3 separate regions of the Homo sapiens genome follow, and regions 1 and 2 are each linked to region 3. The links are contacts of gene promoters, found by promoter capture Hi-C in blood cells and fetal thymus (Javierre and others, 2016). All regions are on one chromosome and are shown on one strand. Each heading gives the region's core, a stretch centred on a gene start or on the middle of the fragment in contact. The rest is flanking DNA. Distances are from core to core; before and after follow the strand shown.

The links. The method cuts DNA at HindIII sites, captures the fragments that hold promoters and counts their contacts. A CHiCAGO score of 5 or more calls a contact.
Region 1: a contact is called between a fragment that was not itself captured here and the fragment with the promoter of PLCG1 in region 3, in 8 of 17 cell types (naive CD4 T cells, activated CD4 T cells, non-activated CD4 T cells and 5 more). The highest score is 24.2, in naive CD4 T cells.
Region 2: a contact is called between a fragment that was not itself captured here and the fragment with the promoter of PLCG1 in region 3, in 7 of 17 cell types (non-activated CD4 T cells, naive CD4 T cells, activated CD4 T cells and 4 more). The highest score is 16.8, in non-activated CD4 T cells.

The regions. Positions count from the first base shown.
Region 1 is chr20:41,237,536-41,240,717 of GRCh38, reverse strand. The region is part of intron 2 of ZHX3 (zinc fingers and homeoboxes 3); the gene reads left to right. Among named protein-coding and RNA genes, the nearest start is that of MIR6871, 70 kb to the right of the region's middle. The HindIII fragment of the contact is 1,134 bases long and covers 1,320-2,453 here.
Region 2 is chr20:41,216,222-41,219,127 of GRCh38, reverse strand. The region is part of intron 2 of ZHX3 (zinc fingers and homeoboxes 3); the gene reads left to right. Among named protein-coding and RNA genes, the nearest start is that of MIR6871, 49 kb to the right of the region's middle. The HindIII fragment of the contact is 215 bases long and covers 1,445-1,659 here.
Region 3 is chr20:41,135,507-41,138,792 of GRCh38, reverse strand. PLCG1 (phospholipase C gamma 1) reads right to left here and starts at 1,250. Exons shown (of 32, transcript NM_002660.3): 1 at 935-1,250. The coding sequence starts at 1,151. LOC124904903 (translation initiation factor IF-2-like) reads left to right here and starts at 1,280. Exons shown (of 2, transcript XM_047440629.1): 1 at 1,280-3,091. The coding sequence starts at 1,454. The coding sequence ends at 2,035. It overlaps PLCG1-AS1 (PLCG1 antisense RNA 1), which reads left to right and starts at 793. Exons shown (of 7, transcript NR_109889.1): 1 at 793-1,079; 2 at 2,982-3,091. RefSeq lists enhancers at 133-212, 361-460, 382-1,166, 1,951-2,735 and silencers at 611-870, 991-1,980. The HindIII fragment of the contact is 8,103 bases long and covers 1-2,292 here.

The DNA.
Region 1 (3,182 bases), core at 637-3,136, 100 kb before region 3:
GAACTTATCGAGATACAGAGTAGAAGGATGGTTACCAGAGGCTGGGAAGGGTAGTAGGGTGAGTGACGGGGGGGAAATAGGGATGGTTCGTGGGTACAAAAAAATTGAATAAGACCTAGTATTTGCCAGCACAACAGGGTGACTATTGTAGAAAATAATCGTACATTTACAAATAACAGTATAATTCAAAGGATAAATACTTGAGGCGATGAATTCCTCATTTACCCTGATGTGATTATTATGCGTCACATGCCTGTACCAAAATATCTCATGTAACCCATAAATATATATACCTACCATGTACCTACAAAAATAAACATTAAAAAAGGGGTTCTAAGATATGTGAGTTACTACTCTTTGCAGTAAGTTCGATGATTTGAAGGGAAAGCATCTGAGCTATATCATCTCAGCCCTCTGCCAAAGTAACTTCACTGGATTATGATATGATTTACTGTCCCATGCTCTGCCTTCTGGAGGATCCATGTAGGAATGGCCTGTTGACCAGCCTGGCCAACATGGCAAAACCCCCCATCTCTACTAAAAAAATACAAAAATTAGCCTGGCATGGTGGCATGCACATGCAGTCCCAGCTACTTGGAAGGCTGAGGCAGGAGAATCGCTTAAACCTGGGAGGCAGAGGTTGCAGTGAGCCAAGATGGCGCCACTGCCCTCCAGCCTGGGCAACAGAGCAAGAGACTGTCTCAAAAAAAAAAAAGGAATGGCCTATTGAGTGTGACTGCATCTTTCCAAACTAAGCCTCCTGCTTTACCTATTTTCTCTTAAACACAGTTCCAAGACATTCTTCTCCTTGGGTTTCCCTTCAAAAGAATTTATCTCTGTATAAGAATAAACATTTGTCTTTGTTAAACGATAAAAATAGTGTCACTTAAAATACATTTCCATATTTTCCCTTGATACTGGGAATCACAGGGTCAAATTCAGTGCCAGGTGAAGGGTGGAGGGCATTCTAATTGTTCCCCTTCTCACAATGTCTCTTCTCCCTCCCTCCCCAGTCCCTTCCATAGGAAACAGGGAATGTTTGTTTCTGTCTTCTGGTAGGAGAAGGATTGGTCCCACCCCCAGCTCCAGGGATGGATCTTGATTGTTTAAGCCCAGTCAGGTAAACCCCACACCTGTTGCACAGTGATTAACCCAGTGGCAGTCATGCCAAGAGGTTTGTTCATGGCTGGGCATGTGACCTGTGCAGGCCACCAGCATGCTTGCTGAGGACTTTGGGAAGAAGGCTCTTCAGTCTTCTGATAGACCTCCCCAAGACGGCCCTCTCTCTGTGTCCTTCTGGATGTTTGGGACATGAAGCTTGGGGCTGCTGGAGTTACCTTGCTGTCACGAGGGAAGCTACCCCTAGGATGTGGTTGACGAAGTAGAAAGAAAGAAAATAGGCCCTTATTGGCCAGGCACGGTGGCTCACGCCTGTAATCCCAGCACTTTGGGAGGCCGAGGCGGGCGGATCACGAGGTCAGGAGACCGAGAGCATCCTGGCTAACATGGTGAAACCCCGTTTCTACTAAAAAATACAAAAAAAAAAAATTAGCGGGGCATGGTGGTGGGCGCCTATAGCCCCAGCTACTCGGGAGGCTGAGGCAGGAGAATGGCGTGAACCCAGGAGGCGGAGCTTGCAGTGAGCCGAGATCATGCCACTGCACTCCAGCCTGGGCGACAGAGCAAGACTCCGTCTCCCAAAAAAAAAAAAAAAAAAAAAAAAAAGAGAGAGAAAATAGGCCCTTGTTTTCATCATAGAGCAACTGACTCAAACTCAACCTGAAGCCGCTGAACTTTCCATTTGCATGTGCCAGCAAACCACCTTTATTATGTAAGCCCTTTCAAATTAGGTTTCTTACTTGCATCTTAGAATCCAAATGGTGCTTAATAGATACATTTCCTTGTATTTTGTGTGTTTTAGTGATTCTAACCCATGGACCAAGACCCTGCCTTGGAGATTGGGGAACAGGTGTTGGAAGGGCTCTATTTTGGCAAAGAATGGATTATTTATGTGAGCATATTTCCGCAAAGTAAGGAAATGTCTTGCCTATATATGTATTAATATTTTTCAAATTTATCTTGTTTTGATGAAATATAAATTTAGATAAAAATACTAAAAATACTGAATTTGTAGGTTTTTATCCTGCATTTTTCACAATGAGCAGATGTTAGAAGCATCATGTAAATTTGTCCAAAAAGATGTTGTTTTTTGCAGAAATTTTTGACTTGAGGAAGAAGCTCTTGCTTAGATAGATGTTTCCACCCTCTGTCCCTCCTTCTTTTCCTTCCTTCTTCTCTTCTCCAGCCTTCACTCCCTGCTGCCTTCCTTTTTTTCCCTCTTAGTCTCTGTTATTACCCTGTTTTCCTTCTGTTGAGTCTTGTTACTCAAACTCTGTTAGAAATAGTTGAGATATAAATTCTAATTAATTTTATTTGGATGCCTATGTTAAGCTTCATTTAACTTTTCAGATCCTGCATCTATGAGTTCGACATAAATGCAAACAAATAATGGGTATTGAGTGCTTTAATAGCAAGGGACCCAAACTGAAGTTCATTCCCCATGCAACAAATTGGGTGTTGGATGGGAATGCTTATAATGATTGACCCCGGTTTTTGGTAGTAAGCAAGCAACTGCAAGTGAACTGTAACTGATGTATTTAATGAGTGCTCACTGTGTGCACATTGCCATTAGTGTAGCTGAGTGGTGCAGCACTGAACCCTTACCTCAAAGATCTTATAGTTCATTGGAGAGAAGAGACATGTACACCAGATACTGTGTAAGCCAGGGCTGTGTTTTATAAGGGAATATGTAAGTTGACATCTGGAACCTCTTTCTTAGAATTATCCTACCAGAAGAGCCCTCTAGAACCTTGTGTTTAATAAATATTGATCACCGCCATTATAAAATATGCTGTTTGTTAATAAAACATATTTTCTTTATTTTATTTTATTTTTTTAATTATACTTTAAGTTTTAGGGTACATGTGCACAACGTGCAGGTTTGTTACATATACATGTGCCATGTTGGTGTGCTGCACCCATTAGCTCTTCATTTAACATTAAGTATATCTCCTAATGCTATCCCTCCCCACTCCTCCTACCCCACAACAGGCCCTGGTGAGTGATGTTCCCCTTCCTGTGTCTGTGTGTTCTCATTGTTCAATTCCCACCTATGAGTGAGA
Region 2 (2,906 bases), core at 303-2,802, 80 kb before region 3:
GAAAACCCGTCTCTAATAAAAATACAAAAAATTAGCTGGGCGTGGTGGCAGACACATGTAGTCCCAGCTACTTGGGAGGCTGAGGCAGGAGAGTGGCGTGAACCCGGGAGGTGGAGCTTGCAGTGAGCCGAGATCGCGCCACTGCACTCCAGCCTAGGCGACAGAGCGAGACTCCGTCTCAAAAAAAAAAAAAAAAAAAAAAAACAGCACTGTTTGAGGGGGAAAAACAAGTAGAGAGCTCTAGCCTTGAGCCCTTGGCTGATGGTGATTACTAAATGCAGAAATTATTGTGACCCTTAAGTAACCAGAGGGCAAATTGAGGCCAGCTCTGGGCTTGACATTGCTTTGACATTTGAGGATTTAGACTTGAGTTCTTTGTAACTTTTTTGTTTTCAGCAGAAATCTGACAATTGCAACCAGCACATCCACTTACTGGACTGCCAAGGTCCTGCCCACACACATTCCTGAGGAAGGACAGTTTTCCACATGTTCTTTTTGTTATAGAGTCCTACTGACTTACCGTGGTCTAATCACCAAGCCTCATGTTAAAAGAGTTCTCTATTAATACATAAGAGTAAGCAATACAGACCCTCTTCTGACGGTATAAAAGTGTTATAAATACTAAGGATCATAATAACTGTCAAGCCTTTTTACCATTTATTTATTTATTTATTTATTTATTTAGAGACAGGGTCTTGCTCTGTTGCCCAGGCTAAAGTGCAGTAGCATAATCCCAACTCACTGCAGCTACGACCTCCCAGGCTTAAGCAGTCATCCGCCTCAGCTTCCCAATTAGCTGTGACTACAAGCATGCGTGTCACCATGCCAGCTATTTTTTAAATTTTTTGTAGAGACGGAGTCTCCTTATGTTGCCCAGGCTGTTCTCAAACTCCTGGGCTCAGGCAATCCTGTCTCCTTGGCCTCCCAAAGTGCTGGGATTGCAGGTATGAGCCACTGGTCCAGCCTCTTTTTTCATTTTTAGGAGACAGGGTCTTGCTCTGTTGCCCACATTACTGGAATGCAATGACGGAACCATAGCTCTCACTTCAGCCTCAAACTCCTGGGCTCATGAGATCCTCCCATCTCAGCCTCCCAAGTAGCTAGGACTACATTGTCAAGCCTTTTTAAAGAACAAAACAAAACACTAGAATAGTTCAGGTTGTAAAATCTTCGAACCCTCTGTAAGAAAAAAATGTCAAAATAGTTACAGGTAGTGGATGTATTGTTTAGTTGGTATTCAGAATGAATATAGTCTAAAAGAGAACACTGAATTTAGAATCAGAATATCTGGCTCTGCCAAAAATATGTCGTGTGTGACTGGTCATATCACCTCCCCTTTCTTGCTCGATAGCTCCTCAATACTACAATGAGGGAAGGCCAATAATAACCAATTCAGGAGACTATGAGGATGGATTGAGAAGGATATGGAAGTGCTTTGCAAGCTTTCGTGGACTTTGATGATGAAATTGAAGTGAATTCTGTTTTCTTTTCGGTCATGGAAACTTCCCAGCAAGCCAACTGATTTACTTAGGATTGGCTTGGGCAGCAGTAGGGTGGGTGGCTGCATCTGATTTTTGTTTCCAAGGTCAGCATTTTCCAAAGGAAGGGAAGAGAGAAACATTTAAAACAGAATGTTTTTTAAAAATATAAATTTAAGCTTCATTTATGATACAAGATTTCTTTTTAAAATATGTCTCGAGCTTTTAATTTTTTTTTAATTATGAAAATGTCAAATGTACATAAGAGCATATATATGAGCCATATATATCCCAACCCAACTTGAACAATTATAAGTTCATGGTCAAATTTATTTCATGTATTTCTACCCATCCCTCATTTTTTTCTAGGGGGTTGGGTTTTTCCTCCCAGTAAATCCTATATAACAAATTATTTTACCCATAAATATTCGAGTGTGCATCACCAACTGATTAAGACTTTTGTTTGTAACATAACTGAAATACCATTATCATACATAGCAACATTAACAGTAATTCTTTAATGTCATTTACTGCCTCCTGTGGTAGATGGGCTCCAAAAAATGGAGATGAAACCCCAGTTTCATCTATGACAGGTAAAGAATAGCCCATTTTCTTAATATATGGAGAACACTTGACATCCCATAGGAAAATGGACAAAAGATAATTTTATACAAAATCGTCAATGACATGTGAAAAGATATTCAGCCTTGCTCATAAAGAAATGTAGATTCCAAATACTAGTAATTAGTGTTTTATATATCAAATTAACAAAGACTGAAAATAGCAAGAATATGCAGTGATAGTGAGTGCATCCTCAGTTCTTTGGTGGTAACAGCGAAAATCAGTACAGTTTACTTGAAAGACAATTTTGTATTTTGCTAACAATATTTTAAATGCTACTGCAATTTTACTTGTAAGAAATTCAGTATTTCAGAAATTCTCAAATGTATAAAAATATGTGCAGGGATGGTCACCGAGTCATTGTAATAGTTAAAAACCTGGAGAAATGCAAATGTCTCTTATCAGGAGAATGGTTAAATAAACTATGATGCATCCATAACCTAGAATGCTGAAGTTGTTTAAAAGACTGAGGTAAACTAGAGATGGTGACATGGAAAGATATTGAAATTAAATAATTGTGAGACGAAAACTCAGGGTCAAAATAGGATGTAAAAATACAATTCCATTTTTGGTTTTTTAAAAGAATTAATTATAGTAAGCTATGCCTAGGAAACATGCCTGAAATCATATATACTGCACTGTTAACAATGGTTTATCTCTGGGGGTGAATAGGAAGGATTTTCACTTTTCTTTCTTTCCGAGAGAGAAATTTCCACTTAGAGCATAATTTGAAACAAAGTAAAAAGGATAAATTTCAAAGTAAGTCTTTGTTGCTAGCACTAAATAGTGGAATGCTACCTATGAATT
Region 3 (3,286 bases), core at 1-2,500:
CCCACTAGAGACCAGCGCAAAAGCAGCCAAGCTCAGGCCTGGGAAGGCGAAAAGGCAGGAAACTAAGAGAAGCCGCTCCCGCTCCCTGAAGCCACCGGACAGAGGACAAAGGGCTAGACTCACAAACTAGCTGCACTCCTGAGAAGAATACCTGACTCCAAGGCGCTGGGGCAGGCCTTTATGGGGCCCATCTCCTGGGAACGTGCTTCCCAGGGCAAGGGGAGTCCCTGCCCTGGCATTGAGTGTCTGCCCACCCACATAGGCCTCCAAAACCCAGCTTTGGGACAAAAGTAGCAGAAAAAAAAAAAAAAAAATTCCAGCCACTGGCTTCTCTCAGGCTTCTCCAAACCAAACAAGACCACCTTCCTCCCTCTCCCCCAGAGGGAGATGAGTAGGCCCAGCTCTGCTCCAAGACCAGCCCTACCCAACATCTGCCTAAGTTCTACTTAGGGAACCCAAAGATTCCTTTGCAAATAAGAGCCCAGCCTGGGGGCCCGGAGAGTTTCACAGACTGCTCTTTCTGGATAAAGAGTGGGCGGGGACCGTCTGGTCAGGCCCCAGGTTCCCGTGCAGGGTGGGGGCCACTGCCTTAGCTCCCCTCGCCGACGCCGCCACCACTCCCAGGGTCTGGGGGGCCCGATGCCTGCACCGCAGGTCTCCAGCCCGCGAGGATTTTTAGGCCTCAGGGCAAAGCGCCTGGAACACTCCCCCCAGCTGGGGGAGGGGGGGTGTCCTGTCAGGTGACCGAGGACCCGGATGCCCCCCGCCCCCAGTGACCACCCGAGACGAAGCGGGGGCGGGGCCCGGAGGGAGTCTGGGAGGGCCCGAAAGTTTGCCCAAGTCGCTGGGGCGGCCGGCCGGGGTGCAAGCAGTCGGGCCGGGCTCCCACGACCCCCGCGCGGGGCGGGCCCAGGCAGGAAGTGGGCGCACTTACTGGCCCCCTCGATCTTGTCGGCGCCCCGGCTCCACGTGATCTGGCGCGTCTCCAGCTTGACCTGGAAGGTCTTCCGCTCGGGTCGCTGCGACTTCTTGGAGTAGAACAAAGTCATGACGGTGCCCACCTCGAGGCTGCGGCAGAGGTGCAGCACCTCGGCGTCCGAGGGCGCGCCGGGCCCGCAGCCGTTGGCGCAAGGGGACGCGGCGCCCGCCATGGCTCCGACGCTGGGGGCGGCGGCGGCACAGGCCAGGACCGCCCGGGAGCAAGCGCAACGGCGGCGGCTGAGGTTGGGGCTGAGGCTGAGGCGGCAGACGAGCGGGACCCGGCGGCGGCTCCTGCAGGCGGACACGGGGCGGGGCCTCAGCGCGGCGGGGCGGGGCTGCCCTGAGGCCCCACCCCGCTTCGGCGCCGGGAACAAAGGCGCCCGCGCACCCGTGGGGAGGACCCCCGCCCGTCGGCCCGCCGCGCCTGCGCCCCGCGACCCCCAGACAGGCCGCAGGCGGGGACGGAGGCGCGATGGCGGCGGGAGCGCGCGCCGTTCCCGGTCGACCCACCCAGCCCTCAGTCCCGCAGAGCTTTCTCACGCGGCCCCGGACACAGCCCGGCGGCCACGAGCGGCCCTGTCACGCACGGCAGCCCCGCCCACAGGCCGCAGGCCCGGCGGCCGGCGCGTCAGTCAGGCGTACTCGCACGGGCGGCCGCTACCCCGCGGTCCCGCACAGACGCAGCCCCCGCGTCCCGAACACCGCCCATGCAGCGACCGGGACGGGACGTGAGGGGATGGCGCGTCCTCCGGGAATGCCCGGCCAAACTCAGTTACCTGGGCGGGCTTCCCGGACAAGGGAGCCAGGACGGGCCGCCTCACACCGGCGGCGGCGGGTCCTCCGCGCGCCCTCTCCCGGGAGGGGCGGGGGCGGGGCTGCCTGCGGATTGGTCGCGGGCACTGATGGACAGCCGACATGTCCCGCCCCCCCGGCAGCGCGGGGCTGGTCCGCAGGCAGTTCTGGCGACGGCCAGACCCACGTCTGTCTGTTCCGCCCCTGCTGCCAGGGTGGCTTTCAGTGGTCCTCTCTTTCGGAGAGTTCCCCCCAAGCGTGAGCACCCCTTACAGGGGCGTTAGGTCCGCGGCCGCGCTGTCCAGTGGTCTGACCTGCAGCTCCCAGGGCCTTTGTGTCTGTCCCTCGCATGGGCCTCTGCACGCTCCGTCCCCACGCGACAGGACTCGAGTCCGATTCGGGGCTCCGACTCAGACCCTACCCCGCAGCGCCCTCCTGCAAATGCTCTCCTGAACTTTGGTTTTCCCCGCCTTGCTTTCTTCCTCCTCCTGTAGCCGCTGCCTCTCGATCTCAGAAGCTTCTCTTCCTCTGCACTCAGTGCTAGGCCAGATCCCAAGGCGACCTGACCTTTCCCCTGGCTTTGCCCAACAACACAGGCACCGGTGACTCCAAACCTGCATCTCCCCTACGTTCCAGGCCCCAGCATCCCACTGCATGTTCCACATCCCCCCCCCTTAGACAGCTCGCCTTCCCTCCCCAAACGATTCCTTCCACAGTCTTCACTTTCTCAGAACGCGGCGCTAAACTTCTCTAAGTTGGAAGGTCAAAAACCTTGCAGCTAACTTTGATTCCTCCCTTTGCCTCACCTCCAATCCATCAAGACCTTGTCACTCAGCCCACAAGCTGAAGGCCCCATCTCCTGTCACCCAGACTACTCACCTTGTTTGGTTTTGCCTGGATCTATCAGTTTGGTTTTGCCTGGATTTATCATGCTTTAAATCTTTAAAATGAAATTAAATCATGATCCCCTACATCCAGGCTAAAACCCTCCGTGAATTCCCATTGCACCTAAAATCCACACTCCCTGCTTGGCCTAGCAGGTTCTATATGACCTGCCCATCTCACCAGTTTCATCTCTCACAAGTGATCCTTCACTCTCCATTCTCCAGCCACAAGGCCTTTTTCTGGTTATGGAATATAATTCATACTCTTTGTCTTTCTGAAGCCATTCTTGAAACTCACCCCTGCAATCTATCTACCCTTGTCAGCACCGCCAAAATTGAGGACACCCACGGTCGCGGTGGAGCCTGTCTGACATGTTGAGCCAGGCAGTGGGTCGGCTGCCAGGCACAGCAGGACAACTTACTGCATTTCAGAGGTGAGAAGCCCAACAGAGCTTCCAGCTGATGCCAGAGAAAGAGCCAGGCTTCCTGGGAATTGTGAGATAGTAGGACTAGACTAGAGTTTGTAAGAGCGTGTGCTCAGGCAACCCACTCAGCTGGATAGTGACCTGGGGCTGCTGCTTCTGACTTTGTCTTGCTGTAGTGGAAACTTGTGTGTTAACGTTGATTTC